2 separate regions of the Homo sapiens genome follow, and region 2 is linked to region 1. Evidence: promoter capture Hi-C in 16 types of primary human blood cells and fetal thymus (Javierre and others, 2016). All regions are on one chromosome and are shown on one strand. The core of a region is centred on a gene start or on the middle of the fragment in contact, and the rest is flanking DNA. Distances in the headings are between cores, read along the strand shown.

What was found. The method cuts DNA at HindIII sites, captures the fragments that hold promoters and counts their contacts. A CHiCAGO score of 5 or more calls a contact.
Region 2: a fragment that was not itself captured here is called in contact with the fragment with the promoter of VSX2 in region 1 in 2 of 17 cell types (M1 macrophages and M0 macrophages); the score reaches 6.8 in M1 macrophages.

What each region holds. Positions count from the first base shown.
Region 1 is chr14:74,237,802-74,240,942 of GRCh38, reverse strand. It overlaps VSX2 (visual system homeobox 2), which reads right to left and starts at 1,494. Exons shown (of 5, transcript NM_182894.3): 1 at 1,012-1,494. The coding sequence starts at 1,381. RefSeq lists an enhancer at 1-143. The HindIII fragment of the contact is 12,282 bases long and covers 1-3,141 here.
Region 2 is chr14:74,101,563-74,104,703 of GRCh38, reverse strand. All of the region lies in intron 5 of LIN52 (lin-52 DREAM MuvB core complex component), which reads right to left. All of the region lies in intron 1 of LOC105370563 (a long non-coding RNA gene), which reads left to right. Among named protein-coding and RNA genes, the nearest start is that of LIN52, 18 kb to the right of the region's middle. The HindIII fragment of the contact is 3,512 bases long and covers 136-3,141 here.

The sequences.
Region 1 (3,141 bases), core at 245-2,744:
CGGCGCGCTTGGGACCGGGACGACGGAGAGCGAGGCAGCCTTAGGGGGCCGCAGAGATCCCCGGCAGCGCTCGCGACCCTGCTGCGCCCTGCCCTGCGCGGCCAGCCCCAATGCCCCGGGCCGGAAAGTTGGCCTCGAGGAGCGAGGAGCGGAGCGGAGGCGTGGGGAGCTGGGCTCCGGGAAGACTGGGGGCTGCCGAGCACCGTCCTTTTCGCAAGGCGGCACAATGCGTCCCTACTCGAGGCCCGAGAGCCTGCGACGCGCTGGTTTTCGTTGCCTTTCCACGTAAAACAAAGTAAAACGCAACGAAAAATCGGGGGAATTGCCAAGCTCAAACAGGAATCGGAGGTTCGAGCGGGCCGCGACACACCTCCCGGAAAGCAGCGCGGGGAGAAGGCGGAGAGGTCACCCAGGGTCCCCGAGCCCGCGCGTCCCCGGGCTCCAGTATATAGTGGCGCTTACGTGGGAGAGGATGGCGGCCGCTTTAGCTGCCGCGATGGCCGGGTTGTCTGAGCTCGTGGGGGTGAAAAATAAACCCCAGTTGACCAGCGCGGGATTTGGGAATCAGACAACTTTGGACACCAGGGATGGGGCCGGAGCCGGAACAGCATCGGGCTCGAGGAGTGCGGATCCTACACCAGGCCGGGGCCGCAGTGGAGCAGCGGTGCTGGGGCCCTCCGACACGGCCGGCGACTCTGCACCACGGGCTCCGACACCCCAAACCCAGTTTTCAGTGGGGCTCCAACAGAGTGCCGTGGCCGAGCCCTGCCCGACGCGGGGACTGGAGAACTGCGCGGCCGCCCGAAACGCTTGGGGCCGAAACCCTGCGGACGCCGAAGCATCCTCCCGGGCCCCATCACCAGGCGCGTCGGCCCAAGGCCCAGGCGGCGACCCCCGGCCTGGCAGGAACTTTTCCGCCTGGAGGCCTGGTCCAGCAAGCGAGAGCCGACGGCGCGGGGCTCCCGGCTGTCGCCCCCCAGTCAGGCAGCAGCGCAACCTCTCCTCACCTACCCGAGCTGGCCGTCTGGCTGGTGTCCAGCGGCCCCGATGCTCTGCCCAATGGCTGCAAGTGGACGCTCTGCGGGTCGGACAGCACTTCCAGGAAGGTGGGCTGCGTGTAGAAGCCAGGGAGCCCCCCGGGCCCCAGAAGCCCCATGCCGCCCACCCCCGCGGGGCTGAGCACTGAGCGCGCCGCCAGCAAGTGCCCGGGGGCCAGGCCGTCGAGCGCTGCCCGCGGGTGGGAGCTCGGGGGCTCCTTGTTCAAGCCCAGGATCTCCTGGATGCCGAACCCAGTGCACCTGGCCGGGGCGCCCCCCGAGGTACTCTTGGCCACTGTCTCGGATTTGGGCTTGCTCAGCGCTTCCCCTGCTTTCCCCGTCATCTCCCTGTTCTTTGGAGGGGCTGAGGCCGCAGGTCTTTAGCTCCCCCCACCCCCCCGCCGGGCTTCCCGCTTCGCGAAGTTGGTCCCAGGTGCCCCCTCCGGTGTCTAATGCTCTGGAGCCCAAGGAGATTCCCCTTTTATCCAACCAGGCGGCAGCCCAAGTGGGGTCAGAGCTGAGCAGCCAATCACCGGGGCCAGGAGCGATTAGGAATTCCAAAAAGCTGGCAGCTCCCGCCGCAGGCAATGTCGAATGGCCAGGGTGCTGGGGGTGGAGCACCGGGTGGGCTCTGCAGGATGCCCATGGGCAGGGACCCCAGGGGCCGAAGTGAGACAACCAGGTTCAGGTTCAGGGCTGTTCCGGGAGGCAGAGTGGCTTGGGGCTCTGGGCAGATTCTGGCAGGGACAGGTCCCTGAGGTCAGGTGGAAGGATGGGCTAAGGGCAGAGGTGAGAGACTGGGAGACCTCCTTCCCTCAACTCCTATGCAGGTTGGCAGCATCAGGGCGGCCTGAATATGGCACCTCTGTGTAAACGGTTGAACAAGGGAGAGGTAAGTGCTGGGGCAGTGTGTGTGGTGGTAAGCTGGGAAAAGATCAGGCCAAGGTGTGCAGAGGGTGATGTAGGGGTAGGGAAAGTTTGCTTCCCCAGCACAAGGTATAATGCCTAGTTCGGAAGAGCTACTCAACACATATTGGCCCAATGAATGAATGATAAATGGGTCAGAAAGAGGGGTCCCTGGTGGGAAAGAGGAACAGTGATGATTACTTTTGGAGAACAACCATGGACATCCAAACCTCTTCCTAGAGTAAGCATGAAGCATGCCCAACTTTCATGGGAGGACTTGATTCTTCCACCCAATTCATTCGACTAATATGTATTGAGCTACTAGCTCCGACCTGGTAGCCAGGGGTTCCGCAGTAAATCAGACAAGGCAAGGGCCCTGCTATACTTCAGAGTTCATTGAGCAAACAGAATGAAGAGGAAGGGATTGTTGATGTGGAGGGAGAGGAAGGAGGAAGCGGGTGAGAGGAAATTAAAAGGTAAGCTGCTTTCCCCTGCACTCCACCACCTCAGCTAACTCTTCTGTGACCTTCTTGGGGCTGGGAACTATCTTATCGACCTTGAGGCTCCCTTCTTCACTGCGCCTAGCATATGGTCAGTTCATGGTAGGTTCCTTGAATTGAAGGCACCCTATGGGGAGATAAGGACTAGGTCCATTGCTTTAAGCAGAGATTGGAAAACCAGGCTGGGAAGATTCCATCCAGGATTTCTTAGCCAGTCAGGTGCAAACCCCCAAATGGAAGGAAACCCCCTAGCCATACCTGGCCTATTGCCAAGGTGTCTGGTACCCTCGTGGCTGCCATGGGGCCAGCCTGAGAGGTAAGAGGAGGCACCTCAGGATGTGGAACCTAGACCTTGCTAGCAGGGCTGTTGTGAGGAGGGTCTCCACTCCCATTGGTTTGGTCCACATAACAGCTGGAATTAGGTAGGGGCATCTCATGGTGCAGGAGATATCTGGGAGAGTGGTGCCTCTGTATCCCATAATAAGGCCGTGCCTACTGTGTGCCTACATCATCCCAGGCCCCTTACATGGTGTCATCTCTGGTGACACAATCTCAAGGCATTCTTCACCTTATATTCTATGGAGGTGGGTCCCAAGTAACACCACTCACGTAGACAACAATGTGAATGGTGCCCTCTGGAGTTGTGCAAAGCAGTAGACTCACCTGCCAGAAAAGAATTTCTGTCCCCATTTAATGGA
Region 2 (3,141 bases), core at 642-3,141, 140 kb after region 1:
AGATCTAGAATCCATCAACTATTAATCTTAGTATCACAAAAAGAAAGACCAGCACACATAATGTACCCAACACCAACTGTGAAATATTCTTATCAAAATTAAAAAAAAAAAATCAAGCCTGTATCTGTGCAAGCTTCTAGATCTAACAATCAGCAGATAAAAAAGGGATAGGTGAACATGTTAAGCTCTACCACAGGAATGTAATCAACAAAACCCAGATTTTGAAAAATCTACAGAACAAATGACTAGGTTTAACAAATGACAAGGGGAAATAAAATGCAGGTGGAAGTATGACAGGCTAAAAAAGATTTCAGAGACATATCAAATACAGTATATGAACCTTATTTAGATCCAGACTCAAAAAATGAACTGTATAAAGGCATTTATGAGTCAACTACAGAAATCTAAACCCTGATTGGCTATTTGATGATATTTAACAAGTTTGTTAAAAAAATTGTAGTTATAATAATGAAACTATTGTTATATTTTTAAAAAATAACAGTAGCCAGCTGGGCGCAGTGGCTCACTCCTGTAATCCTGGCACTTTGGGATGCTGAGGCAGGTGGATCACGAGGTCAGGAGATTGAGACCATTCTGGCCAACATGGTGAAACCCCGTCTCTACTAAAAATACAAAAATTAGCCAGGCATGGTGGCATGAGCCTGTAATCTCAGCTACTTGGGAGGCTGAGGCAGGAGAATCGCTTGAACCCAGGAGGCGGAGGTTGCAGTGAGCCAAGATCGCGCCACTGCACTTCAACCTCCAACCTGGCGACAGAGCGAGACTCCGTCTCAAAAAAAAAAAAAAGAAAGAAAAAGCCAGGCACAGTGGTATGTGCCTGTAGTCTCAGCTACTCAGAAGGCTGAGGTGGGCTGATTGCTTGAGCCCAGGAACTCAAGTCCAGCCTAGGCAACATAGAAAAACCCAGTCTCTTAAAAAAAAAAAAAAAAAAAAAAAAAAAAAAAAAAAACTGGCCAGGCCCGGTGGCTCACACCTGTAATCCCAGCACTTTGGGAGGCGGAGTTGGGCAGATCACCTGAGGTCAGGAGTTCAAGACCAGCCTGACCAACATGGAAAAACCCCATCTCTACTAAAAATACAAAATTAGCTGGGCCTGGTGGCACATGCCTGTAATCCCAGCTACTCAGGAGGCTGAGGCAGGAGAATCGCTTGAACCTGGGAGGTGGAGGTTGCAGTAAGCCAAGATCATGTCATTGCACTCCAGCCTGGGCAACAAGAGCAAAACTCCATCTCAAAAAAAAAAAAAAAAAAAAAATCTTACATTTTGTGCCACTGTTCCTGAAGAGAAAGGAAAAAAAACAATATGTCAGGTGTGGTGGCTCATGCCTGTAATCTCAGCACTTTGGGAGGCCAAGGTGAGCATATTATTTGAGGTAAGGAGTTTGAGACCAGCCTGGCCACCAGGGTGAAACCCCATCTCTACTAAAAATACAAAAATTGGTCAGACATCATGGTGCATGCCTGTAGTCCCCGCTACTTAGGAGGCTGAGGGAGGAAAATCACTTGAACCCAAGAGATGGAGGTTGCCGTGAGCCGAGATTGCACCACTGAACTCCAGCCTGGGCCACAGAGTAAGACTCTGTCTCAAAACAAAACAAAACAAAACAGCAAAAGAAAGTAAGAGTCCTTGTCTTCTGGAAACACATACAAAGTTACTCGGCAATGGGGTAATATGATGCCTGGAATTTGCTTTAAAGTAGCTACAGGAAATTGTTATAAGTAAAACAAGATTGGCTATATGTTGATTACTGAAGCTGGGCCATGGGTCATTATTCCGTTCACTCTACTTTGGTATAAATAATAAAAAGCAGGAAAAAATACTTCATTACCTTTCTCAGTAGGAAAGCAGAAAAAGAGAAACTAATTAGAGGAACCATAATTTCAGCTATAACTATAGATAATACTACTGACAAATCTATTTGGTAATATAGCATCTTCTTGATATAACAAACATAACATTTACTTCATTGAAAAACATTGACACAAAGAGATAAAGCCTTGATCACAATGATCATTACAGCATTTATTATCCAAAGCTAGAAACAAAATCAAGGAACAAAATCGACTATGAAAGTCTCACATTCATGAATTTACTAATCACAGATTTGCCTTTTCATTATAAATCAAGGAGGTCCATGACATACATGGTAACTAGTAATTTTGCCAAGGTATAAACTTTAATCATAAGAAATAAATTACCAGTATATAGAGAAGAGTTAGGTACTAATGAGTGAACTTAGCAGAGCAGCTAACAACCATATCTTGAAGCAGTTTGTTGTTCTCTATTTCTTGATTCCATAACCAATTCAAAAATGTTTTCTTGGTAAAAGAAAGCCAACTGCTGATGACAGTAATAGAAATAAAGGAAGGATAAAGAGGTCTGAGGAAGTGACGACTATCAGTTGAAAATTAGAAATTTTAAATTAATTTTCTTGTTTTTGAGACAGAGTCTTACTCTGTCGCCCAGGCTGGAGTGCAGTGGCATGATCTTGGCTCACTGCAACCTCTGCCTCCCAGGTTCAAGTGATTCTCCATCCTCAGCCTCCCAACTAGCTGGGATTATAGGCATGAGCCACTGTGGCCAGCCTTAAATTTATTTGTAAACTAAAATGCTGGTTGGGTGCGGTGGTTCATAATCCCAGCACTTTGGAAGGCTGAGGCAGGAAGATCACTTAAACCCAAGAGTTCAAGACCAACCTGGGCAATATAGTGAGACTCTGTCTCTACAAAAAAAATTTTTTAATTACCCAGGCACGGTGGTACATGCTTGTAGTCCCAGCTACTTCAGAGGCTAAGGTGGGAGGATCACTTGAGCCCAGGAGTTGAAGATCAGCCTGGGCAACATAGTAAGACTCTGTCTATTTAAAAATGAGATAATAACCTGAAGGGATTTCAATATACTTTTACTGTATAAAGAAAAATCGGCCGGGCGCGGTGGCTCACGCCTGTAATCCCAGCACTTTGGGAGGCCGAGGCGGGCGGATCACGAGGTCAGGAGATCGAGACCATCCCGGCTAAAACGGTGAAACCCCGTCTCTACTAAAAATACAAAAAAAATCAGCCGGGCGTAGTGGCGGGCGCCTGTAGTCCCAGCTACTTGGGAGGCTGAGGCAGGAGAAT